7 separate regions of the Homo sapiens genome follow, and regions 2, 3, 4, 5, 6 and 7 are each linked to region 1. Evidence: promoter capture Hi-C in 16 types of primary human blood cells and fetal thymus (Javierre and others, 2016). All regions are on one chromosome and are shown on one strand. Each heading gives the region's core, a stretch centred on a gene start or on the middle of the fragment in contact. The rest is flanking DNA. Distances are from core to core; before and after follow the strand shown. Region 1 holds the start of LINC02610 (long intergenic non-protein coding RNA 2610). Region 2 overlaps LRRFIP1 (LRR binding FLII interacting protein 1). Region 3 overlaps RBM44 (RNA binding motif protein 44). Region 4 overlaps RAMP1 (receptor activity modifying protein 1). Region 5 overlaps RAMP1 (receptor activity modifying protein 1). Region 6 has its middle 24 kb from the start of UBE2F-SCLY. Region 7 overlaps LOC124908001 (a long non-coding RNA gene).

The links. The method cuts DNA at HindIII sites, captures the fragments that hold promoters and counts their contacts. A CHiCAGO score of 5 or more calls a contact.
Region 2: a fragment that was not itself captured here is called in contact with the fragment with the promoter of LINC02610 in region 1 in 3 of 17 cell types (total CD8 T cells, megakaryocytes and total CD4 T cells); the score reaches 5.9 in total CD8 T cells.
Region 3: a fragment that was not itself captured here is called in contact with the fragment with the promoter of LINC02610 in region 1 in 1 of 17 cell types (activated CD4 T cells); the score reaches 5.1 in activated CD4 T cells.
Region 4: a fragment that was not itself captured here is called in contact with the fragment with the promoter of LINC02610 in region 1 in 4 of 17 cell types (activated CD4 T cells, naive CD4 T cells, erythroblasts and 1 more); the score reaches 6.9 in activated CD4 T cells.
Region 5: a contact is called between a fragment that was not itself captured here and the fragment with the promoter of LINC02610 in region 1, in 1 of 17 cell types (total CD4 T cells). The highest score is 5.0, in total CD4 T cells.
Region 6: a contact is called between a fragment that was not itself captured here and the fragment with the promoter of LINC02610 in region 1, in 1 of 17 cell types (activated CD4 T cells). The highest score is 6.0, in activated CD4 T cells.
Region 7: a contact is called between a fragment that was not itself captured here and the fragment with the promoter of LINC02610 in region 1, in 2 of 17 cell types (total B cells and neutrophils). The highest score is 5.5, in total B cells.

What each region holds. Positions count from the first base shown.
Region 1 is chr2:238,229,624-238,233,372 of GRCh38, forward strand. LINC02610 (long intergenic non-protein coding RNA 2610) reads right to left here and starts at 2,054. Exons shown (of 3, transcript NR_026926.1): 1 at 1,711-2,054. It also overlaps the pseudogene TARDBPP3. The HindIII fragment of the contact is 6,584 bases long and covers 1-2,523 here.
Region 2 is chr2:237,777,627-237,781,375 of GRCh38, forward strand. It overlaps LRRFIP1 (LRR binding FLII interacting protein 1), which reads left to right. Exons shown (of 24, transcript NM_001137550.2): 24 at 1,796-3,749. The coding sequence ends at 1,906. Among named protein-coding and RNA genes, the nearest start is that of RBM44, 19 kb to the right of the region's middle. The HindIII fragment of the contact is 1,833 bases long and covers 664-2,496 here.
Region 3 is chr2:237,827,160-237,830,908 of GRCh38, forward strand. It overlaps RBM44 (RNA binding motif protein 44), which reads left to right. Exons shown (of 16, transcript NM_001080504.3): 11 at 91-170; 12 at 274-344; 13 at 2,058-2,343. Among named protein-coding and RNA genes, the nearest start is that of RBM44, 30 kb to the left of the region's middle. The HindIII fragment of the contact is 8,322 bases long and covers 1-3,749 here.
Region 4 is chr2:237,880,624-237,884,372 of GRCh38, forward strand. The region is part of intron 2 of RAMP1 (receptor activity modifying protein 1); the gene reads left to right. Among named protein-coding and RNA genes, the nearest start is that of RAMP1, 23 kb to the left of the region's middle. RefSeq lists an enhancer at 2,010-2,511. The HindIII fragment of the contact is 1,063 bases long and covers 1,566-2,628 here.
Region 5 is chr2:237,907,773-237,911,521 of GRCh38, forward strand. All of the region lies in intron 2 of RAMP1 (receptor activity modifying protein 1), which reads left to right. Among named protein-coding and RNA genes, the nearest start is that of RAMP1, 50 kb to the left of the region's middle. The HindIII fragment of the contact is 4,100 bases long and covers 1-3,650 here.
Region 6 is chr2:237,941,511-237,945,259 of GRCh38, forward strand. No RefSeq gene overlaps it. Among named protein-coding and RNA genes, the nearest start is that of UBE2F-SCLY, 24 kb to the right of the region's middle. RefSeq lists an enhancer at 1-368. The HindIII fragment of the contact is 2,884 bases long and covers 405-3,288 here.
Region 7 is chr2:237,959,588-237,963,336 of GRCh38, forward strand. It overlaps LOC124908001 (a long non-coding RNA gene), which reads left to right. Exons shown (of 2, transcript XR_007088146.1): 2 at 2,180-2,324. Among named protein-coding and RNA genes, the nearest start is that of UBE2F-SCLY, 5.5 kb to the right of the region's middle. The HindIII fragment of the contact is 2,129 bases long and covers 1,071-3,199 here.

The DNA.
Region 1 (3,749 bases), core at 804-3,303:
CATGGAGATCATACAGATTACAGCCTAGAAGCTAGAGAAGAGGGCCTAGCAAAGAAATGTGGGGCACAATATTTAAGAAGACAATATTCGCCGGGCACGGTGGCTCATGCTTATAACCCCAGCACTTTGGGAGTGAGGCAGGTGGATTGCTGGACCAGCCTGGGCAACACTACAAACATCTCTCTCTACAAAAAAAATACAAAAATCAGCCAGGCATGGTGATGTGCGCCTATAGTCCCAGCTACTTAGGAGGCTGAGGTGGGAGGATCACTTGAGTCTGGGAGGTCGAGGTTGCAGTGAGCCATGATCGTACCACTGCACTCCAGCCTCCAGCCTGAGACAGAGTGAGAACCTGTCTCAAAAAAAAAAAAAAAAAAGACAACATTTAATATCCAGTTGTGAAGAGCCACTGCCAGAACCTGAGAAGGAATGGTGGAACAAGAAGAGCAAGAAGACTAGACAGAGAACAATTTTTTGAGATAAGGTCTCACTCCCATTGTCCAGGCCAGAGCACACTGGCGTGATCTCAATTCACCGCAGCCTTGACTTCCCGGGCTCCAGTGATACTCCCACCTCAGCCTCTCGAGTGGCTGGGACTACAGGTGCGGGCCACCATGTCTGGCTAATTTTTTGCATTTTTGGTAGAGATGGAGTCTTGCTATGTTGCCCAGGCTGGTCTTGAACTCCTGGGCTCAAGCGATCTGCCTAACTCAGCCTCCCAAAGTGCCGGGATTACAGGTGTGAGCCACCGTGCTCTGGCAAGAACAATGTTTTAAGAAGCATGAGGATGTTGAGTATCAAATGCCGCAAAGTTCGGGTGAGAAAACTGAAGAGTCTACTCGGCAATCAGGAGTTCATTGGAGACTCTGGCAGAAGTTTTCTATAGTAGAATGGCAGGAAATGTAGCCATACTGAAATTTTGTTAGGGACAAACAGGTGATGAGGAAATGAAGAAAATGAGAATGAAGACTGTTTTTAAGAAACTGGAGTGTGAAGAAAACAGTAGGACAATAAGTAAGAAACCTCAACGGGGTGTGAGGACAAGTTCCCCAGGATAAAGTGGATAAGATGGAGGTTGGCACTTAAGATTTGGAGCAGGTTCAACAGAGAGGAATGGCAAGGTTTGAGGGATGGTTCCTGACGTCTAAGGGCGCATTTAATATTCTTTCAAGGTTAAGGTGGGGCAAGATCTGGAGGAGAGAGGATAGTACCCCAAGTGTCATCATCCATTGACAGGTCAATAGGTAGTACAGCGACATGGGAACAGAGCAGGTGTGCACAGAAAGCATGGTTTCCCAGGGAGGGCAGTATTTTTCCATGAGGATGCAAGAGTGAAAAGCCTGGGAGATTCCACGAAGAGCTGAGGGGCTTCTGAGCCACAGCTTAAACCTTAACCCTCCTCCTCTCAGATACATTCAAATCCAAGTACTGATAATAATCTAGTAAGACCTGGGCTTCCCTGGCTACCGTCTATCAAGGAATGCCAGTGTCTGCCTCTGGGCAGTGCGCGTTGGATTTGGGTTCTCTGCGGGGTCTTGCTGATCTTAAAGACAATGCAGGGGCCTTGTGAGTCTCACCTCTGTACCCCCAGCACATAACAGGTGCTCAACACATTCGCGAGGGGAGCGCTGAGCAAAGCGGAGGCCCGGGTTCCCTCCTGGAGAAACCTGCTTCCCCTCCAAGGCCTCAAGCGTCCGCTCCTTCACTGACCTCAATCGTTGATTTCGGCTGCACTTCCTATCCCTGGGGGAGCTTTCAACGCTCCGCCGTCCAGGCCGCCGGGCCCCGCAGCCCGCGCCCCGCTCTCTAGGGCTGGGCCCCCAGGGGCTGGACGACCTCTCTCGCCTTCGCTTTCTCAAGCGTAAATCGGGCGGCGGGGGCTGCAGAGCCTTCATCTCTTCCTCCGTCCCGGGATGTCGGAGAGACGGCAGCCCAGCCTCCGCCACCGCAAAGCTGCTTAACGGGCAGCGCGAGTCCCTCGGGCACCGTTGGAGGCCGTTGCTCACCGTTGGGCAAGTGCTTTAAGAAGCACGAGGATGTCGAGTGTCAAATGCGGCAAAGGGCTCAGAGCTCGCCGCCAAGGGGCGTGGCCTCCGGGCCGCGGCGGCCTCTGGGAGTTGTAGTCCCGCCTCAACTTGTGGTGGCCTCTTTAAAAAAACAAAAAACAAACAAACAAAAAAACACTGGCGCTTGGGTCCGTCGCTGCCTCGGTGTCCCTGTCGGGCTTCCCAGCAGCGGCCTAGTGGAAAAGTAAAAGATGTCTGAATATATTCGGGTAACCGAAGATGAGAACGATGAGCCCATTGAAATACCATCGGAAGACGATGGGACGGTGCTGCTGTCCACGGTTACAGCCCAGTTTCCAGGGGCGTGTGGGCTTCGCTGCAGGAATCCGGTGTCTCAATGTATGAGAGGTGTCCGGCTGGTAGAAGGAATTCTGCATGCCCCCGATGCTGGCTGGAGAAATCCGGTGTATGTTGTCAACTATCCGAAAGATAACAAAAGAAAAATGGGTGAGACAGAAGCTTCATCAGCAGTGAAAGTGAAAAGACCAGTCCGATTTAATAGTGTTGGGTCTCCCATGGAAAACAACTGAACAGGACCTGAAAGAGTACTGTAGTACCTTTGGAGACGTTCTTATGGTGCGGCAAAGCCAAGATGAGCCTTTGAGAAGCAGAAAAGTGTTTGTGGGGCGCCGTACGGAGGACATGACTGAGGATGAGCTGTGGGAGTTCTTCTCTCAGTATGGGGATGTGATGGATGTCTTCGTCCCCAAGCCGTTCAGGGCCTTTGCCTTTGTTCCATTTGCAGATGATCAGATTGCGCGGTCTCTTTGTGGAGAGGACTCGATGAAAGGAATCAGCGTTCACATATCCAATGCCGAACCCAAGCGCAATAGCAATAGACAGCAAGAAGTGGAAGATTTGGTGGTAATCCAGGTGGCTTTGGGAATCAGGGTGGATTTGGTAAGAGTAGAGGGGGTGGAGCTGGTTTGGGAAACAATCAAGGTAGTAATATGGGTGGTGGGATAAACTTTGGTGCGTTCAGCATTAATCCAGCCATGATGGCTGCCCCCCAGGCAGTGCTGCAGAGCAGTTGGTGTACGATGGGTGTGTTAGCCAGCCAGCGAAGCAGCCAGGCCCATCGGATGATAACCAAAGCCAAGGCAACATGCAGAGGGAGCCAAACCAGGCCTTCGGTTCTGGAAATAACTCTTGTAGTGGTTCTAATTTTGGTGCAACAATTGGTTGGGGATCAGCATCCAATGCAGGGTCGGGCAGTGGTTTTAATGGCGGCTTTGGCTCAAGCATGGATTCTAAGTCTTCTGGCTGGGAACGTAGACAGTGGGGTTGTGGTTGGTTGGTATAGAATGGTTGGAATTCAAATTTTTCTAAACTCATGGTAAGTATATTGTAAAATACATATGTACTAAGAATTTTCAAAATTGGTTTCTTCAGTGTGGAGTATATTCAGTAGTATTTTTGACATTTTTCTTTAGAAAAAGGAACAGCTAAAGGAATTTTATAAGTTTTGTTACATGAAAGGTTGAAATATTGAGTGGTTGAAAGTGAACTGCTGTTTGCCTGATTGGTAAACCAACACACTACAATTGATATCAGAAGGTTTCTCCTGTAATATTTTATCCCTGGACTTGTCAAGTGAGTTCTTTGCATGTTCAAAATGGAAGCCATGAATTAGAACTACATTCTTTATTCCTTGTTTTAATTTGAACCCCACCATATGGATTT
Region 2 (3,749 bases), core at 330-2,829, 450 kb before region 1:
TGTTTGTCTTTGATTTTCTACAGTTTTACTGTTAGATGTAGTTTATTGGAATCTTTCTGCTTGAGATATATAGTGTTTCTTGGATCTGTGAAGTCTTTTTAAAAATTGATTTTGGAAAATATTCAACCATTAACTCCTTAAATAATTCCTCTTTTTTAGTCTCTCCACTTTCCCCTCTGGAACTCTAATCAGAGGATGTTAGAGATTCTCATTGTCTCCACATTTTTTAACCATCTCTCTTTCATGTTTTCTATCTCCTTACCTCTCTCTATTGGATAATGCCTAAAGTTTTTGCAAAGATTTTCCAGTTCACCATTTTTTTTAAAAAGTGTCTTCATTGTTGATAGTTTCTTGCTGCATGTTCATGTATGTCCTCTTTTTAAATTGTATTCTTATTCTTTAAATATTTCATACACAGCTGTTTGGTTTTCTGTATCTGACAACTGAAACATGCTCAGTCTTTGGGGGTCTAATTCTGTCATTTATTGCTTCTGTTGACTCTCACTCAAATGGTTTGTCACCTTAGTGTTTTGTGAGCTTATGCTTGATTTTAATTTGTAGGAATAACTCCAGGCTTAACTTGTGGAAACTTCCTGCAAAAAGGGCTTGCTTCTGCCTCTGCTAGTGAGGTGGGGTCGGGACTTCTGTCCCAGGACCCAAACAAGCTTCCTTGAGTGTTTTGGGTCGAAAGCAGAGCCATAGACCCTGTTCTTGTCACCCCTCCAAAACCACGTTCTCCCAGCTTAGGGCACCCCACTCTGCCCTGCTGCCTGTGGGTCCAGATGATGCCCTGCTAATGTGGCTTCTGCAGCTCGTCTTCTGCCTGACTCTCAGGCTCCATGGCCCTGGCTCCCAGGTGTGGCCGTCTTGGCCTCAGGCATTCCTGCCTTGGACTCTGGCTGCCAGGGCTGTGGGGACCACCTTCGCCATGCAGTCCAGGCTCAGCTCTTGTTGTTTGTGTTTGTTTACCTCATGCCTCACTTACCTTTTGTGAAACCATCAGGATCCCCACTGGGCGTGTGGCTCACGCCTGTAATCCCAGCACTTTGGGAGGCCGAGGTGGGTAGATCACCTGAGGTCAGGAGTTCAAGACCAGCCTGACCAACATGGTGAAACCCCATCTCTAATAAAATACAAAAAATTAGCCAGGTGTGGTGGTGTGCACCTGTAGTCTCAGCTACTCAGGAGGCTGAGACAAGAGAATTGTTTGAACCCAGAAGGCGGAGGTTGCAGTGAGCCAAGATCACACCGTTATACTCTGGCCTGGGTGACAGAGCGAGACTTTGTCTCAAAAAAAAAAACAAACAAAAAAAGAGGCCGAGCGTGGTGGCTCATGCCTGTAATCCCAGCACTTTGGGAGGCCAAGGCGGACAGATCACGAGGTCAGGAGATCGAGACCATCCTGGCCAACATGGCAAAACCCCGTCTCTACTAAAATACAAAAAATTAACTGAGGGTGGTGGCGCACACCTGTAGTCCCGGGAGGCTGAGGCAGGGGAATCGCTTGAACCCGTGAGGCGGAGCTTGCAGTGAGCCGAGATCACGCCACTGCACTCCAGCCTGGGCGACTGAGCGAGATTCCATCTCAAGAAAAAAAAAAGAAAACCATCAGGATCCCCAAGGGTGTTCCCTCTCTGGAGTCCAGTTGTTTCAGAGGAGGAAGGGCATCATGAGGGACCAGGGGCCAAGTTATCATTTTATTTTTCAGTAGGATTGGAATTTCGGTAACACAGAACCCTGTTATGTTTGGAGGAAACAAGTTCCTTAAAGCTCACTGCCTTTCCTCCGTTCCCAGCTCCGCTCTGCATTGGATAAAACAGAAGAGCTCGAGGTGAGCAACGGCCACTTAGTGAAGCGTCTGGAAAAAATGAAAGCAAATCGGAGTGCACTCTTGTCCCAGCAGTAAATTCCAGCTCTGATCAGGCAACTGGTTGGTGACTGGAGAGCATTGTTTCATAGGCTTTTCTCTGTCCTATCTGGGAGCGCTGCTTCTTCCCCTGCCTTCCGAGAGACGAAGACCGTGGCGAGCTTGGCGCTTAGGGGCTCCCGTGCCATGGCTCACCCCAGGGAGCCCCAGCAGCCACCAGGTGCCTCTGTCTGCAGACCCCTGGCCCGGGCTGGCGCCGACGCTCAGAACCTGCAGGTACTTCATAAGCACACAGGGGCCTCGAGGGAGCTCTGTGTCTGACCGCACAGCAGCCTCTGAATGCCGCTGGAAGTGATGATCAAAGTAAAGATTCAGTTGGGACTTGAGTTTTTTTTTTTTTTCATGTGTCTTGCTGAAGATTAAGGGGAAATGTTACAGTGTTGGGACTTCCTTTCATGGCAGAATCTACAATTTGAGCGACTTCAGTAGTATCTCTTAGTCTACGCTTTTCATACACAAAACACTGTGGAACCACAAGCCATTACCAAGCAAAACTCTTTCACTGGAAACAAGGGGGCAGTCTAGAAGTAAAAGTGACCTTAAGAAGACTCTTTACAGGCAACAAATGAAGCTTTTCTAAGGGATTTTTGCATCAGTTCAGTCATAAGAATACTTTTTTCCAGGGTAATTAGGCAATAGCTTCACTGAAAATGACAGCTTTTCATTGCATTATTTAATCCTTATATTTGGAATTGAAGTCGTTAACTTCTTTTAAAGAATGTACTATTAGAAAAATTAAAAATGAAATGTTGAGAGACTTCAGCAATGTGGTTCTAATTTTTTTCCACTGAGAAAGAAGATCTTTAATTTCATATTAATGGTTCTGTATATTTTGGGTCATCTTTTTATTTTTTAAGAATATCAAGTCAATTCATTTTTCTTTCCCTATTTAAAAAAAAAGGTGTTTTCACAGAATGAGTGCACTTAAAAAGTGAAGTGAAGGAGGAGGTAACAGTAGAGACGATGGCAATATCATCAAGGACAAAAGTAAAAACGTTTAGCTACCTGCTGATTTTTAGTGACTGTTCATATATGTTGTATTTCAAGTATGGCTGGTGAAGCCAGTCAGCTTTTCGGGACGTTAGCAAGTGGAAACTGAGTCAGTATCATCCAAAACCATATCTAGTCTTAACACATGGAGAATGCTGGAGTGAGGGTTGTGAGTTCAGGGTATATAATCAAGAAAACACTCCCAGCATAATGCTAGGGGTCACCAGTGTCCATCCCCCAGAACTGTATGGATCTAGGATATACACAGCTGCGTTGCATTAAGAAAGAGATGAAATCTCTATTAAAATACACAAGATTTTTGTATCTCCTTGTGCAGAGGATATTTGCCACTGCCCATTGGGAAGCAGACAAGTTATAGGGGGCTGGGGGCCAACACTGGCAAGTAGGAAACCACGGGTCGGACAGGTGAGCAAAATGTGCTGGCAGGTGGGCACCACTGGGAGACCCACACTGCACACCCGGGCACCGTATGAACAGGAAAGAGGAAGGAAGCTGGACGAAGCCCCTCAGGGACCCTGTGCTGACCATGCTGGGCCCACCGGCAAAAGGGAGATATTCAGTTCCTTGTCTCATCCTTAAGGTTTCTTCCACAACATCTGAATACAAGCATGTTTAACTGGGAAAATGTCTATGTCATGCGTGAATAACACCAGCAGCAAACACTCACACATCACGCAGACACGGCCGGCAGCATGCTGACGCTTTTAGGTATTTTTCACTCATGCAATTTTCACATATTTTCACTCATTTCATTTGCACGGAAATTCTATGAGGTAGATGCTGTTATCAAATCCACATTACAGATGAGGGA
Region 3 (3,749 bases), core at 367-2,866, 400 kb before region 1:
GGAAACAAAATATTTAACAGTGTTCACATTTTCTCTGAAACATATCAGTACAATAAAGATCATTTCTGTTACATGTTTTTCTCTAAGCAGAAATGAAGAATGTTGAACCCTCACAAAGAGATAAAGGTTATTTGATACATGTTGGTGGCCTCTGCCCTTCAGTATCTGAGGTATACCAGGATTATTTTTTTGAGCTTCATTTTCAAATTTATTAGTTGTTCATATTTGTTGTTTTTTTCTACCTTTCACAAACTTTTATTTCTCTTCTTTTAGGCCGATTTAAGGTCTCATTTCCAAAAATACCAAGTTTCTGAAATTTCAATTTATGATTCTACTAATTACAGGTGTGTTTCCCAACTTTAATCAATGTGCATTATTATGTGTCTGCTGTTTGCCAAAGGTTCTATACCAGATATCAGCCACAGTGGTGATAAAGTCAAGGGTTATTCTCACAGGGTTTCACAGGCCAGGGAAGGGGACATAGGGACAAATAGCTGCAATCTTGAGTTGATACTGTTCTTAACCAGATCTTTTTTTTCATTATACTTTATAACTTGTTAATGGTATACAGGAGAGTTATTGATTTTTGTATACTTTATCTTGCTACATGCCACTTCATAGGGGAAGTAGAGCACATTAGGTAAAAGAACGGCTTCCAGAAATAGATAACATCGGTTCAATTCCCAGCTCTGTCAACAACTTGGTTAATAAATTTAGGCAAGTTACTTAACCTTTCTGTACCTCAGCCTCTTTGTCTATAAAGTGAGGATAATAATACTAACTTCACAGCATTGCTGTGAAACTGTTAGAAGTAAAATATGTGAAACACTAGGAATAAAGCCTGGCACATAGTAGGTGCTCAGAAAATTGTATTTCATTTCACTGTTTCTGATTTCAGTTACTTTTTAGTTGACACTTTTTATATATTTTAGGTAGACAGCTACCTCATTTACATGTAGTCAGTCTGAGTATGTATGTTGCTACTTTCTGTTTTGTGACATTGCCAGATCATTCAAAAGTATTAAATAACAATGGCGATAGCTTAATGGAAATTTTTTTACTGTTTCATTATTAAAAGTGATAGCTGTTTATTTCAGATATAAAATTTTTATCAATTAAGAAAGGATCCTGTTTGTAGTTGGGGTTGCAATTTATTAAAAATGTGTGTCTTAAATGAAGTCATATAATTGTAAGATAATTGTTCAGCTGTAATTATTTAACCTGTTGATATGATGTTAATACATTTCATTAAAGTAGTATTGTAATCCTAGGATTATTACTTGATGTGAAAACTCTTTTAGTATCTTGTTGAATACTTTTTTAAAACTATGTTTTTTTCTTACTTGAAGTATTTTGCATTCTGTGTAGAAATTTAGAAAGTACAATTAAGTGCAAAACTACAAGGAGTTTATAAAAATGTATCCATAGTCCCATCATTTGAAAACAGCCACTCTTCCCGGGATTTGGTATATATCCTTCCATTGACGCTGTCTAGGGCTGATGATTTTATAGGAATAGCTATTGCCCAACTTTCTTGTATATATAATTAAAATTCTGATTAGATTTTCCAACTCTTTGTTTTTGTCTGTATATTTCCCCACTACAAGGTCATAAAGATACACTTTTGCATATTCTGCTAAATATTTAAAATTTTGCCTCTCACATTTAAGCCTTTAAGTTATCTGAAGTTTACGTTTATACATAGGGATTAGTTTTAGGTTTTTAAGTTATGGATAACCAGTTGTCCCCAGACCACTAATCTCTGCAACTCTATCATATATTAGCTTCGCAAATATTTTACATTAGATTTTAATATGAAATTAATAGGAGATAATGTGTAAGAAATACTTTTCTTCTATTTCCCATCTTTAACTTGGTTTTTATTTAGTTATCCTAAATAAATATTCTTCTTAATCCCAAGGTAAGTACAGCAACCTTTTTATTTTTAAAAGCAGTTACTCTTGTGAAAAACGTATTTGCATCAGTAGTTGCAAAATTAAGTTTGATGTAATTTGAAGTCATTAACAACCTTTTGGTTTTCTGCTCTTATGTTTTAGATATGCATCTCTTGCTTTTACAAAAAACAGCGATGCAAAGATAGCTGTGAAAGAAATGAATGGGATAGAAATAAATGGAAAGTCAGTAAATGTGTGGCCTGTTAAAATTCTTGGAGAATATACATCACCACTTTCCTCCAAAAATGGGAATAGAATTAGTTCGAATAATTTAGAGAAAAGCACCAACAAACAAATCCACTCAGAATTCTCCATTTCTAGATTGCCCAGAACTAGGCCACGGCAGCTGGGTTCTGAGCAAGACAGTGAGGTTTTCCCTTCCGACCAGGTTAGTGTTTTTGATAGATCCCTTAAATGGTCTTTGTACGTCATATTGCTGTAAGTAGCTTTGTAGAATAAATAACTTCAATATGCAGTCTTGAAATGGGAATGACAGCATTAATCTGAATTGTTTTCAACCTTGAATCCACCTCAACCTGCTTTTGTACAACTCCAATTGTTCCTGGGGGGAAATCTAGATCTTTGTAGACCAAGCTAACGAAAAACTCGTTTTAACTAGGCTCTTTGCCAGTCTTTCGCCGTCTTTTTATTACTACTCTATAAGTAACTAATTATAATTTCATCTTTATTTTTCTTTCATAGCTAACTTTATCTCATAATTGTTAAAACCGTAAAATGTAGTCATTGTATTTTCATATATTCTCATGTCTCTCTTATGGAGGTAAACACCCTGTGAAAAGTGGTAAAGTTTGCCTTGTTCAGTCTTTTCTCTCCACTGCTCAGCAAATTGCCTGGAGTCCCATAGGCATTCCACAGATTTTAAAAAAAAAATTACGCACAGTAAAATTCAATACTTTTTGGTGCCTATAGCTTTAGACAAATGCATATAGGCAAGTCACCACCACCATAATCAAGATTCAGAACAGTTCCATCACTCCAGAGAATTATCTTGTGCTCTGATCTGTTTCCTATTCTTAAAACTTGACCTTTTTCAGAATGTTATATAAATGAAATTATACTATATAGCCCTGTTAGCCTGGCTTCTTTCCCTGAATGCATTTGAGATTGATCCATGTTGTTGTGTATACTGGTATTTTATTCCTGCTTATGTTGTGTCCATTTTTATTCAGTTTATTTTATTATTGAATTTTGATTTTTTAATATTCTGATTTTAAGTCCTTTACCAGATAGGTGATTTGCAAATAATTTTTCTCACTTCGTGCCTTGTCTTTTCATTCCCTTAACAGTGTCTTTCTCAGAACAGGGATTTTTTTTAGTATTTATGAAGTATAATTTATTAATTTTTTTCATTTATAATGTATGCTTTTAGTGTTGAAGCTAAGAAATCTTAGCATAATCCAAGGTCACAGAGATTTTGAGTTAATTTTTATATATTGTTTCAGGTATTTGTTGAGGTAATTATTGTTTATTTGCATTTGTTTCTGTTTTGCATATGGAATAGTTCCAGCATCATTTGTTAAAAAGATGATCCTATTTCTGTTGAATTACCTTTGCACCTTGGTCAAAAATCAATTGACCATGTTTGTGTGAGTCTATTTTTAGACTGGAACTGTTTCGCTGAACTGTCTCTTTCTACCCATAGTACACTGTCTTCATTACTGTAGCTTCATAGTAAGTTTTGAAATCAGGTGGGATGAGTCCTCTAACTTTATTCTTTTTCAGAGTTATTGTAGCTATTTAGTCTCTTTGCCTTGCTGTATACTTTTATAATTC
Region 4 (3,749 bases), core at 847-3,346, 350 kb before region 1:
ATTGTTTCAAAAAATTGGCTTGCCCAATCCCAGGGCCCAGCAGGCCAGCAGGCTGGAAACTCTTGGGAGCCGACGCAGCATTCTTGAGGCAGAATTTCCGAACGTGCTGGTAAGGCCTTACCATTGGCTGGGTGAGGCCCCACCCCCAGCATCAAGGATTATCCCCTTTACTTAAAGACAACTGATGATAGATGTTAACCACATCTCCCAAATACCCCCACAGTGACCCCTAGACTAGTGTTTGACTGAGTAACTGGGCACTGTAGCCTGGCCAAGTTGGCTCATAAAGCTATAATCATCACACTGGTTCCAGGGGCAGAGGTCTCTGCGCAAAGGTGTGTTCAGACAACTGGCATTGTCCCTCCTCCTCCTGCCCCTGCCCATTTCTCTCATTCCTTTCACCCTGTTCCCACCCAATTCCTGTGGGCAACTTACCTCATCAGTTTCTGGTCTTTCTTTCCTGTATATCTTTTGCATAAATGAGCAGATGCCTGCATTTTCTTACATCCCCTTCTTTCTTATATAAAGGGTTGTATACTAGTGACACTCCTTTGTACTTTGGTTTTTCTTCACTTAACAACATAACCTGGAACTCTCTCCTTGTCAGTGCAGAGGGAGCCTCCTCCTTCATTTTTACAGCTGTATAGTACTCCGCCGTGCAGAGTCTTTCAGCCATTTTCCTTTCAGCCAGGGCAGAAGCCAAGCGAGCAGAGGCACTTAGGTTGTGGCCAGTATTTTCCCATTTCAGCATCGACGTGGATGGCCTCACGCATCCGTGTTTTCCCAGCACTGGAGCTGACTCTTCAGAATAGATACCCAGAAGTGGGGTCGCAGGACCAAAGGTGAGAGCAGGAGGAATGTGTTAGGTTTTGCAACGTCCCTCCAGAAGGCTGATGCCAGTTTGCATTCCCACCAGCAGCGTATGGGGTGCCCGTTTCCCCAGACCCACCAACAGACTGTGTTGTCGTCCATTAGAGTTGTTACTGTCTGATAAGTGAGAAGTGATGTCTCAGCAGCATGTGAGTTTGCATTTCTGTACTTAGGAGTGAATCCGAACATCTTTCGTATGTTTACAGGCCGTTCTTTTATCTTTTTGGCAAATTGTGTCTTTTCCTATTTTCTATCAGGTCGTTTTTAAAGAGTTCTTTGTATGTTAGATGGGTTAGGCCTTTGTCTCTCGTGTACATTAGAGATTTTCTCCTAGTTTGTTGGTTGTCTTTCAACTTTGTTTTTTTTTTCTTTTGGTGTTTTTGTTGCCACACAATTTTTTTAATGTGGTCAAAACCATCCATCTTTGATCGCCTCTGGATTGGAGTCCTAGTGGAAAGCCCCTCCCCACATGAAGGGAAAAGAGGGATTTGCCACGTTTTCCTCTAGCCTGTGTGGTCCCACTGGTTCCATCGAAATCCTTGGCCCATCGGAGTTTATTCCAGTTTATTCTTGTGTATGGTGTGAACTATGAATCAAATGTTATCTTTTTCTGGATGCGCTACCCACTTGTCCCATTTATGCAAACGTCCATCTCTGCTCCCCGTGACCTGAGATGCCACCTTTGTCATGCACTAAGCTTCCCTGTGCACTTGGCCCGTGCCTTCTTAAATCGTCCCTTTCCCAAACCTTCCTCATCTCACCTGAATCTCATATTGATCTATTCTCCAGAACTATCAATGGGTCCTCACCGCCTGCTGAATGTTTACCTAATTATCCCTTAACTTAGTCCAAGAAACGCGTTTACTGTAGCTGGCGTTTATTACCGCGTGCTGGGCTTTGTGTCGAGCACGTAACGTACATTGGCTTTTTGAGGTCAGCAGCAGCCTGGCGGAGGTGGGGCTGTTGTGATTGCTGCTTCACCTGCCCAGGCTCGCACAGCTGGTACCCATGGCTCCCTCCTGGTTCCCGGCGGAGGTGGAGGGATGCCCTGCCTCCATATAACTGTGGCCTCCTGAGATGGGGATGCAAGCCTTCAGGTGCTGCCTCCGTCCTGGCGATGTCCCTACCAACCTGGTGAGGTCCATCGCATTGAGACACCAAGCCTGGCAGTGGGCCAAGGGCAGCCTTCCAAGGGTCTCCAGTAGCAGCGAGGGCCTGGGGTTCTAGGGTGGGCAAGTTTGTCCAAGTAACTAGTGGAGGGGAAGAGGGCCCTGGAGAGAACACGAAGGCACAAATAGGGTGAGAGGCGCTAGGCTGCCTGCAGGCAGGCCATCACCAGGTGTGGGCAGGTGGCACTGTGTCTGTTGGATGAGCGGGACCCCAAAGTGAGGCTGACCGGCAGGCAGCCAGACAGCCAGGTGGCTGGCCTCAGGGAATGCTCCCAGCCCAAGCAGGGTCCCAGCTGGTCTCAAGGACTGTGAGCCAGGCAGGTGACCTGATGGGGGACACAGGCTCTGGGAAAGGCCCGTCTCTGAGCCAAGTGCAGTTGAGGCTTGGCAGCTGGGGCAGAAGCCAAGCAAGCAGAACCAGGCAATTATTGGGGTCTGGTATCCAAAACCAGGCTGGCATGGAGGCCAGGGGATTCTGAAGGCAGGAGCCTCTGGGCCAGAGCTGCCACATGCCTGCTGCCGCCCAAGGTCATAGCTGTCCCAGGGCCCTGGGCTGGGCCTGCAGGTATCTTGGTATATGGCAGAGGGAAGCTTCCAGACTCTTCTGAAATCAGAGGTCTCATTTAACAACAGCTGCGTGTCAAAGGGGACTCACCTTCCTATGAGCGACGTAGACAAAGGCGGCCGGCCAGCCTTTTATGGGATACACACACAGGAGTAAGTGGGGGCTGAGACATGCTCGTGCCAGCTCCTAGTGCCGGCCCAGAAGTCTTGCTTCCTCTATCAAAGCAGATGGGAAGGAGGCCCCCCGTGATCCCTGCTTTACTCAGGACGTTGAATAGAAGTAAAAAGTGAATGGAAGACTCCTCATGGCCTGGTGCAGTGGCTTTCGCCTGTAATCCCAACACTTTGGGAGGCCAAGGCAGAAGAATTACTTAAGCCCAGGAGTGTGAGAACAGCCTGGACAACAAAGTGAGACTCCATCTCTACAAAAATTTTAAAAATTAGCTGTACATGGTGTTGGACACCTGTAGACCCAGGTGCTTGGGAGGCTGAGGCGGGAGGATCACTCAAGCCTGAGAGGTCAAGGCTGCAGTGAGCCATGATGGTACCACTTGCACTCCAGCCTGGGTGATAGAACCAGACCCTACCTCAAAAAAAAAAAAAAGAAAAGAAAAGAAAAAAAAAAAAGAGGCTCCTCCTCTGCACAGGGGTCATTCCTGGGTCCCTGCCCTGGCCTGTAGGTCCACTTTTTTTTTTTTTTTTTTTTTTTTGCGCATTCAGGGTTTGTAGCCACTGCGCTTGCCCTGGGACCTTGGCTGCCCGGCATGGATCTGCACGCAGGTGCTTGCTGGGTTCCGACAGCCCTTGCCCTGACCGTGACCCCACTCCTCCGCTCATCCTGTTGCTTTGTTACCTGGTTGGTGGATTTTGTCAGGTTGTCTGTTGTGAGCAAGGCTTGGGGGTGATTCCTGAGCCCTTTCTAACACGTGTTGGGTGTCTTCCACTCAGCTACATGGAACAGGTCCCTGAAAAGTGGCTGAATGAGCTCAGCGGGGCCAGGCTCCCCTGCAAGCTGGCTGGGCCGTCATTTACCAGGGGTTATCATCTCATTAAGCTGCAGCCTTGGTTTGCTGATGGAGGCATAATGTGATTTAATGTATTAACTGGAGCTACAATCTAATTTGAGGAGGTATAGAAAACCTGGCA
Region 5 (3,749 bases), core at 351-2,850, 320 kb before region 1:
CATCTAGGTCGTCTCTGAGTCTAACTCCATTCATTGTTTTGCCTCTTGACAATGGGTTGGTTGTTTTTTGTTGCTTCTGAACAAAAAATATATAATTTTTATTGAATACTGAACATTCATGTATAGAACAGAGGTGACTACGGTCAATAGTATTTACATATGGAAATGGGTAATCCTCTTCTGTCAGACCGTTAGTGTGGGATTTGAGTCAATCTTGTTAGGAATTGAGCTGGGTTTGGGATTTGTCATTGTTATGGTTATCTTCAATGTACCATAGGCCTCAAGTACCTCTAGCAATGAGCTGTCATTGCCTTGTGCCCAGGGTTGGGACTAGGGCACTGGAGGAGATTCCTCAGTGTGGTGCCCCACCCTCTGCTTTCAGCTTTCTCTTGCCTGCCTGTGCTGCAGCATGGATCTTACCCCACTTTCTCTCGGCAGTAGACAGCTGCTGCTTGTTATTCTACCAAGGTTATGTTCAAGGCTTGGGGTGGGTTCTCTGTGTACTGGTCCAGCCTCAGTTTAGACAGGCCCTTCCCTGTGCCCTTCACCCCAGCATTCCTACCCCTCTTCCCTGTGGCAAACTCTGTCGGGGTCTTGGGTGTGACTGTCCTGTCCCTTCCCCAGTGAGAAGAGACCTCTGGTGGTGGTGGTGGTGGTGGTGGTGGTGTTTTTGAGACAGAGTCTTGCTCTGTCACCCAGGCTAGAGTGCAGTGGCATGATCTCGGCATGATCTCGGCTCACTGCAACCTCCACCTCCTGGGTTCAAGCGATTCTCTTGCCTCAGACTCCCTCGTAGCTGGGATTACAGGTGCCCGCCACTGTGCCTGGCTAATTTTTGTATTTTTAGTAGAGATAGGGTTTCACCATCTTGGCCAGGCTGGTCTTGAACTCCTGACCTTGTGATCCACCCGCCTCAGCCTCCCAAAGTGCTGGGATTACAGGTGTTAAGCCACCACACCCAGCCAAGGCCTCTGTTTTCTATGGTGCAGGATCGTAGGCCAGGATGGTTTCCTGGTGCCCTTCCAAGGAAAAAGAGTTCCTTCCTATCCTTCCCCTAGCCATGGTGTGTCTTTGTCTGTGCCCTGGGGGTGACAGGCTGTGCTGTTCCTCCCTCAGCAGCCTAAGGCATCTGCTTCCCAGGAGAGAAGAGTCTGGGATGGTGGAAAGGCCTTTGAGCCTGTTCCTACCCTGGCTGCAGCCCTGGTGGCACAACTTCCACAGCAAGCCTGGCATCACACTGGCATCATGGATACGGGGGTGAAGGGGACTCAGCACCTGCCCTAGAGGCACTCAGGCTGCCCCCATGGGGCAAGGGCTCATTCAAGGCTCTCTGGCTTACGGATGCCCACTGTGGCCTCAACCCCCAGTGAGTGCAACTTGGACCCAGACAAGGAAGTGTCCAAGCTGTGGCCAGATCTGGCCACCGAGGGCGAGGGACAGTGGTGAGGTGTGAGACCCGTGCAGTCACACCCTGGCCCTCTCACCTGGCAGCCCTCCAGCCTTCCCAAACCTCCATTTCCCTGTCTACAAAACAATGGGTAACAGCGGTCCCCGAGCATGAGCGAGCTCACACACAGGCCTTGCCGAGCCTGTGCCTGTCATGCAGGGGTACCCAGTGGACCTTCATGATTGCAGCAGTTATCATGGAATGGTGACAACAGTGAATGCCACCAAGACCCCTTCAGGCCATCAGTCCCCAAGAACAGGCTCTGAGCCCCATGAAACGCCAGAGGGGCCTTTCTTCCTGAGTCTCAGGGCTGTTCTGTGAAGCAGGAGGTCACAGGGGGTTGGAGGGAATGCAGGGCTGGAGGCAGAAGGAGCCGGCGTGGTCTGGGCTCTACCCACGGCCAGTGATGTCTCAGAGCCTCAGTTTCCTCTGCTGCAAGAGGCACTTGACACCCACGTCCTGGGTTGGAAGATGACACAGAAAAGCACCGATGGCTGGGTCCACTTGGGTTTTGTCCACTTCATTTCAAAGGGCATCCTGTGGCCTACAAACCCACATCTATGGAGAAAGTTGTTCAGAAACAGATGGCGTTTGCTCTCCCCAGAGAGCCCTGGGGAGCAGAGTCCTGAGAGCACCTAAGGGGCAGGGTGGGAATGAGCTCACCCGCTGTGGCTTCGAGGGTTAAAATTCCTGGAGCAGAGGGGACTCCGCGATGGCTTCTCTCCAAGCCAAGCCCAAGGAACACCCCAATGGCACACCCTCTGCCCGTGCCGCCCAGGCCCCTGGCTCGGCACGGCCACCTCCACTCCCTTCCTTCTAGCCTGGTGGCAGCCATACCTGTGGGTAAAGGCACCTGCAGCCGTGGCAGGATAGGGTCAGAGGCCCTGTGGTGAAGTCCATATGGGGTCACACGTACCCGGTCACACACACAGAATAACACAGTCACACGTGCACACACAGGTTCACACACACAGAATAACACAGTTACACCCACACACAGGGACACACACAGAATAACAGTTACACCCACACACAGGGACACACACAGAATAACACAGTCACACACCCACAGACAATAACAAGTTACGCTCACACACAGGGACACACATACAGAGAATAACACAGTCACACACACACACAATCACACACAGAGAATAACACAGTCACACACACACACAGAGTAACACAGTGTTGCACAGTCACACATAGAATGTCACACACTCAGAGAATAACAGTCACACACAGAGAATAACAGTCACACCCACACACAGTCACACACAGAATAACACAATTACATATACATAGTCACACACACAGTAACACACAGAATAACAGTCACACACACAGAATAACAGTTACACAGTCACACAGAATAACACAGTCACACAGTCACACACAGAATAACAGTCACACAGAATAACACAGCTATACACACACAGTCACACACAGGGAATAACAGCCACTCACAGATAACAGTTACACAGTCACATAGTCACACACAGAGAATAACAGTAACACACAGTCACACAGAAAATAGTCACACACACAGTCACACACAAAATAACAGTCACACAATGTCACACACAGTCACAAAGAGAATAATAGTCACACAGTCACATGCAGAATAACACAGTTACAGCCACACACAGAGAATAACAGTCACACACAGTCACACACACAGAATAACACAGTCATCCACACAGAGTCACACACAGAATAACAGTCACACACACAGAGTCACACACAGTGAATAATAGTCACATACACAGTCACACAGAAAATAGTCACACACACGGTCACACAGAGAATAACACTGTCACACATTGAATAACAGTCACACACAGTCGCACACAGAATAACAGTTACACATAGTCACACACAGTCACACACAAAGAATAACAGTTACAGTCACATACAGAATAACAGTCACACACAGACGCGACACCAGCCTGCGACCTTGCCCAGGGTGGCAGAAGGAGCTGGTGGCAGAGGAGCTGGTGGCAGAGGTTCGGGCCTTATTTGGCCACCCAGCCTGGCTTGTCCTCCTGGTGCAGACAGAGCTGCGAGGGGCCCCACGGCCACGCCAGGGCTTCCTGCACCACGGGCCGCCATGCAGGTCGCCTTGGAGTCCCCTTGGAGCCATCGGGCCCCTGCCCTCCTGGATCCAGGGCCACTGCCTCGGCGTCGGGGCTTCTCCGAGCCAAGCTTCAGGGCTGCATGAGGGGCCACGGTGCAGCAGCCCGGGCTGGGGTCCCGCGTTGGATCCCCCGCCTGCCCAGGGTCTTACCACCTCCTCTTCCAT
Region 6 (3,749 bases), core at 597-3,096, 290 kb before region 1:
TCAAATACTTGTTTTGAACACCATTTCCAATTAAAGGAAGAATTTCAATTATTGTTTTTCTCAACTGTTATCTATTGCCTCGGGCAGCAACAACTAAAGCCTTTGGCTATAAGTGTTTTCCACAAACACTCCCTGCGTAAGTCTTCAACACTGGGAAAGTTCTGGGTCAAAAAAAAATAAAGTGTTTTGAGCTGGTCTTCCAGGGAAGACAGGTCAAATAATGACAGTTCTTTGAGAATGAGGTCTGTTCTGCTCTCTCTGGTGCTGGGGATGTGTGCTGTTACCTGTATGGAAATAAGGAGAGAAGCAAAGGCTATTTATCTACTCAGAGCTTGCTATGACAAGGGAGGAAGCCACTCTCCTGTGTTTCAGCAGACACTCAAAAGCAGGCAGGGGAGTGGGGAAGCTTCGTGCTGGAGAAAAGGGAAGGCTCAGGTGTGTGCAGATTGGAGGCTGTTGACCTAGGGAAGCTGGAGGGCTCGCTAGAAATGGGGCTTCTATATGATTGCTTAGGGGAGCAAATTGACTTTCTCTGGTTGGTCCTCAGCTGGAAGCAGGGACAAAAATTAGGAAAGTGTCTAGTTATTAACCAGTCAACTGGCTGCGTGGGGCCAATTGTCACAGAAGTAATTGTTTTTACTTTGTGGATTGTTTCTAGAGAGAGCAATTGGACCTCCAACAAGTCTGACTTGTAGCATGCTGGCTTCCTGAGTTGTTATGTGCAGATAAGGGTTTGGCTTCCTTCCTGGGCTTGTTGTTACCGGTTGTGGGTGAGAGTTCTGTTTGTGTATATGGCCTGGCCATTGTCTGTATATTTGGTCTCTCTCTTTTTTTTTGAGATGGAGTCTCACTCTGTCACCCAGGCTGGAGTGCGGTGGCGTGATAGCTCACTGCAACCTCCACCTCCCAGGTTCAAGCAATTCTTGTGCCTCAGCCTCCTGATTAGCTGGGATTACAGGCACACGCCATCAGGCTAACTTTTGTATTTTTAGTAGAGACGGGATTTCACCACGTTGGCCAGGATGGTCTCAAACTCCTGACCTCAGATGATCCACCCATGTCGAACTTCCAAAGTGCTGGGATTACAGGCGTGAGCCACTGCACCTAAACTGGCCTCTCATTTTCAAGTTTCCTGCTTTGCTGGGGAGCCAGGGAGGGGAATAGAGTAAGTTAACTGCCACAAAGCCTGCTGCTCTTACAGAGACTCCAGCCCTTCCTTCAGCTCTTCCTCTTATCAAGTGCTTCCTGACTTCTTACAAGTCTTTGTTTAATTTCCAGAGTTCCAAGAAATTAACTCCAGCAGTTTGGGCCAATGTTTTGTTGCTTCTTAGAATGCACAATAATTTCAGGGTTCCTTATTGTATTTTCACTAACATCACTTGCCATATTAATTTTTTTCCTTTTATTATATTAGAAACGGGGGTGTCTCACTATATTGCCCAGGCTGGTCTCGAACGCCTGAGCTCAAGTGATCCTCCTGCCTCGGCCTCCCAAAGTGCTGGCATTGTAGGCATGAGCCACCACACCTGGCTATAAGTAGATTGTTCTTCAGAGGTTATTTTCAGCTGACTTTTGGTTTCCTATCTAATTTTGTAATGGTGGGTAATGAAGCCCCTCTGAACCAAGAAGTTTGTATGCAGCTCATTCTTGTCTTCTGTGATTTTCTTTTCTCTCTCTCTCTGTCTTTCTTAAGTATAATTAGAGAGTTTATTTGGGCCAAATTTGAGGACTGCAACCCAGGAGACATATAGTCAAGTTACCCTGAATATATGTTCCCCTCTTCCATTTTCATCTGTCCTGCCCAGCTCCTGTTAAGTACATAAACTGCCAGTCCCATGGCGTTATTTAAGGGGAGGTACATTTAATACCTTGTCTTTTTAAATCAACATAGTGGCCAATCATAGCACAGGGCCTGGCATAGGGTATTAAGCCTCCTCTTGGCTGACACATTTTTTTTCTAGAGACACAGCAAACACCAGTCATGTGGACAGGGAGCAAGTAGACATCATTGGCTTTGATGGCAGCAATGGCCCATCTGGAGAGGCCACTGTGAAAATGCCAGCTGCAGTGGGGGAGGTGTGGTCAGGGCGGCATGCTCCACAGAACAGGCGGGAGCCCCGGCCCCTACTGAGTCGGCAGGACAGAAGCCCCATGCTCCCAGGCGCAGCTGCAGCCACTCAGCCTCAGCTCCAGACCCAGGCATCCGTGCACTCTTGGGGGCCCAGGAAGCCCCTTACCCCTGCAGGCTTGAAAGTGTCTGCTCCTGCTGCCTGGCTTCCCACTGCTCCCAGTGCCCACTCTATGGTAGAGCAAAGCTGTGGCCCATCCTGGGCACTGTCATGACCTGGCTGAGTGCCTGATTTTGGGATGCTGCTGACATGCCAGCCCCCTGGAACCTTGCCCCCTCTGGACTTTGGGTGTCAACCAGCATGGGAGGGAAGCCAAAGGGGTGCTGAGGGCAGCTCAGTGAGGGCCTGCAGGTGCCCCTCAACATGAACAGCTTGGGTGCCGTGGATGGCACATTGATGGCAGCAGGAGGCAGACAGGCTCCTGAGTGGGAAGAGGAGGGTCCCCAGTGAAGCCCCACATTCAAGCCAGGGACAGCCTGAAGCCTAGGGGCTGGGCTGTCAGTTACAGATGGAGTCCACAGCCTGGAGTGAGAACTTATGGTACTTTTTCCAGGCCCACCTATGGCTGCCCACGGTCAGCACACACTTCCTCCCTTCTAAGCCCATAAAAACCCCAGACTCCCACAGACATCAGGACTACCAGCTGCAGGAAGGAAGGGACGACCTACTTTGGGTCTCCTCAACTTGTCGGGACAACCTGCCTGTGGACAGGAGCTACCCACCCTGGGTCTCATCTCCATTGAGAGCTGGACACTCATCAGGATGCCCTGCCTTCAGAAAGGAGCTACCCACTCCGGATCTCCTCTCTGCTGAGGGCTGCATTCATCAGAACTACCTCCCTGTGGAAACAAACTACCCACTCTGGGTCTCCTGAGAGCTGTTCTGTCACTCATTAAAATTCCTCTCCATCTTTCTCACTCTCCAGTTGCCAACGTACCTCATTCTTCCTGGACATGGGACAAGAACTCACCACATGGTGTGACTGAAAGAGCTGTAACACAAACAGGGCTGAAACATGCCCCCCAACCCCCCACTCACCGTGTTGTGGGCAACAAGAAGGAGAGAAGACCTGTGGCCCTTCAGGAAGCCCAGACATAGGGGGTCCCTGAGCCAGGGCTGTGACACCTTCTTTGGAGCTCTGTGGTTCCTGGTATTGCCAAGCTTCCAGGCACCACCATGCTCCCCTCGTCCAGACATAGGTAACCACAGAGGAAGCCGCCTGCAGTACATCTTATCCAGATGCAGCCTTGCACAGAGTTGGTGCCTGTGCCAGTGCCTGGAGCTGCCTGTCCCATAGCAGCAGCCAGTTCACCTGGCTGTGCACAGTGGCTGGACCCCACACTCACTCCACTTTGCTACTGGCTCACCCTTGTCAGGTGTAAGATCCCGGCCAGTAGCACGAGCTGAGTGCAGCCTGCCAGGCCAAGTGGGCAGAATGAGCCAAGTGGGCCTGAGCAAAAACTCAGGCAAAGGCACCACCAGCCACAGAGGTTTCCAACTGCAAAAGCAACAACCTAAGGATCCTGAGGCAGCTTGAGAGACAATGGAGAGTAAGACAGCAATAGACAGAGGCAGGGCTGTGGAGCGACGCAGGCCTCCAAAGAAGAGAGAAGTTTCCAT
Region 7 (3,749 bases), core at 885-3,384, 270 kb before region 1:
AAACACCTGAAAACTTAGCCGGGCGCAGTGGCTCATGCCTGTCACCCCACCACTTCGGAAGGCCGAGGTGGGCAGATCACTTGAGGTCAGGAGTTCAAGACCAGCCTGACCAACATGGTGAAACCCCATGTCTACTGAAACCACAAAAAATTAGCTGGGCGCAATGGCACGTGCCTATAATCCCAGCTACTCGGGAGGCTGAGGTGGGACAGTCGGTTGAACCCAGGAGGCGGAGGTTGCAGTGAGTTGAGATTGTGCCATTGCACTCCAGGCTGGGTAACAGAGCAATATTTCGTCTCAAAAATAAATAAAATAAAACCCCTGAAAACTTGAACTAACCTTGGTTAGTGACTAATCCAAAAGAACATGCAATACAAAATGGGAGACAGTGTGACAAAGGCAGACAACTTAAATCCATTTCTGCAAGAAAGTAAAACCAAAAAGCCCCCAGAGGAAGGTGGCTTCTCTCACATTTGATGGTCCTGTAGGGCTTTGCCAGTTCTGGGGTCACTTGATGGGCAGCCAGGAAGGAGGAAGAACCACAGGACTACCATGTCCCTATTCCAGTCCCCATGCACAGACCTTATTAAAAGGAGCCCATTGTTGCTGTAGGTGAATGATGACGATCTCAATCCTATCATCAGATTTAAAACACCACTCTGACTCAGTCCCTCTCCAACAAAGCCATCACAGCCCACTGTATTATTTTTTTTTAAGAAATAAAAAGAAACAAGCTGTATTCCCTGGAGGCCAGTTGCAAAAGCAAAACTTAATTATACCAGTTATGTAATTAAAATTATACTACTTAGAATTTTCAATTGTCTGCTTCCTGGATGACCCCTTACTAAATAATAATAACGATGATAATCTGAGCCCCCATCTGCCCCAGCTATGGGAAGTTCATCCCTCCCTCATGCCACGGAGGACCCCAGAACTGGGACTTGGGTGTCACCTCTCAGCTTCTGCCCCTCAGACAGCCTCACAGCACTCCACACCACCTCCGGCTGCTTTGTAGTCTCATCTTTGTCCTCCTCTCCAGGTTAGACCCCAGGCCCCAAAAGGCCCAATAAAGCTTTTCCTAACAGAAACACCATTTACCTGTCTCCCCTTTTAGCAAGAGAATGAGCTAGTGGGACATGGGATTTTTGGCATTTATTTTCAGCTTCCTCAGTTGAATTCTAAGGCAAGGCTTACCGTCAGCACAGTTCTCTCTCCCTCCTTTCCCCAGTGATCCCTAAACTCATGTGGGTCAGTGGAGGCTTTGTTCCCCCCTGTCTGGAACAAACCTTAGCGGCCACAGTTGTATCCCTGCCCCTATTCTGTGGTGGTTTACTAAATGCTAGTTTCTCCCATTAGCTGAGGCTTTTGGAGGGCAGGGTCTGTCCCCAACGACACTCAGCCCTTGACAGGTACTTATTATATAGTGCCTGATTTGGATTGAAGTAGATTTGAGAAGGCTCCACAGGGACATGGGGCCTGTATGTGTCCAGGCCTGCACTTGAGTGTCCTGGGCCTTGCTCCCCAGGAACACCAGATGAAGCCGGAGGGCAGATGCACACCTGGGAGTAATCTAGAACAACACAAAACAAGTGGAGCAAGGGCTGGCCAAGGGCTGTGTTGCACCCTTTCTCCCATGTCTACTCCCACGGGAGTTCAGCATCCCCTGGGCTGTTTCCCAATTCACACAACAAGGGCTTGCACCTGGAACATGGCTAAGGTCTTGCCTGGGGTAAGGACACTGTGTCTGGAGGAAGGGGCATGAGCACTGGACCCACTGGGCTTGGTGATGCCAGCTCACCCAGACTGCAGATCGTACCTCTGGAGGCCAATCTTCCACTGAAGCCCGGAGCCAGGAATGCCTACCCCAGTGGGGAATGAATGGAGTGTGCCCCACCCACAGTGAGGGCAGGAGGGAAGAGTGGAGTGGACGGCTAAATGCAGTGGATGCCCCTCCAGGGCTTTCCTGGAAGCAAGGGACACAATGTTTGTTTCTCCAAAATTCATATGTTGATGCCCTAACCCACAGTGTGCTGTATTTGGAGATGGGGCCTCTATGAAAGCAATTAAGGTTAAATGAGGCCCTAACCTGGGGCCCTGACCTGGCAGGATTCGAATCCTTATAAGGAGACAACAGAGAGCTCTCATGCTTGCGTGCCCACTCTCTCTCTCTCTGCCCCAGCACACAGAGGCCGTGTGAGCACAGCCAGATGGCGGCTGCTTACAAGCAAGAGGAGGCCTCAGAACGAACCCTACCTTGCCAGACCTTGATCTTGAACTACCCAGCCTCCAGACTGTGAGAAAATAAACATCTGTTGTGTAAGCCACCCAGTCTGTGGTATTTTATGGCAGCCTAAGCAGAATAAGATGCTGGCAGAGGCCACTTTTCCTGCCTGGGAGACCCTTCCCTCACCCCACAGGTTCCCAGGTCCCTGCACCAGCCCAGGCCAGAGTGCTGCCAGCCCTGGACCAGGCTGAAAATATAGATAGCCCAGGCCATCTCCCCTTCCACATCCTAGCTGGAAGCCTCTGGGGTTGAACTTACAGGGGTGAGGGAGGAAGGGATGCGAGGACATTGTCTCCCCCTGCCCTTCCTTGGGCAACAACACTCCTCTGTGAGGCTCACAGTTGAACTTCCACCCCACTCCCACACACACACACAGTGGTTCTGTGACTGAAGCAGAGCCAGTCCCTCCCAGAGAACATGAAAGTTACAGTTAGGGGCACCAGCCCCCTTTATGTCCTGGATTGTGGAGATGTCTGAGCCCAGGCCCTAGCTCCCTGGAGGCACCTGGTAGGGCAAGGCCAGCCCACAGAGGCCAGGACTCAGGTGACAGGCCTGCAGGCAATACACTCATGGCACCATCTCCAGCTTCCCAGAGCTTACCTCAAGTTCTTTGTATCAGCTGCCTCAAGGTGTGCTGGCTGAGGGCAAATCTCAGAGTCAGACTGCCTGGCTTTAAATCCTAGCTCTGCCATTGTTGGAAATGGGAGTTCGGTGTGGCAAAATCAACACTGAGACAAAGGATCTCTCAGCAAGGCTAGTTTAGTTTCTGCAGAAAGGGTGCCGCTCGCTAGCAGTCTTGCCATGAGAGCACACCTGAACAAAGGAGATGGGGACATTTATAATCTTTGTAACCTGATGCAATCGTCCTATGGCTGTGTCCCATTTCCATTGGCCAGAATGGGACCTCACATTCTAAGCTTGACCTGATTGGCTAACAGCTTGAAACTTTTCTAAATAGGTAAAGAGGAAAGAGGACAAAGGAAAGAGGAAGCTAGTCATGAGAGGGTCAGGAGGGTTTCCAAATAAGCTATGGCAGGCACTATGGTCCCGGGCTGCCTTAACCCTGTCCAGGCATGCCAGGTCAAGTCAGAGCAGCTGCACTGGAACATATATAGATATGCATAAAGCAAAGAAATGACAAGCTCTTTATGGTTTTAAGAAACTTTGAAGAACTTCTCTATTCCTCACAGCCATGTTGGACATGTAAACCAAAAATAAAATTCTAAGCCCCCTAATCGACAGAATGGACCCCTCCTCTTGAACAAGGGGATTCTGAAGAAACCTAAAAAATTAGTTCAGGCCATGATGGGAAGGAGGGGTCAGACATGCTGCATTATACCCTCCTCACTTTGGCATTCAAGCACAGCTCACCAGCATTAACATTAAAACAGAGATCATAAGACTGACAAAACAGGCTGTTTGTACTAATAAGATGCCAAATTCCAACTGACTCTAGTATAGCATC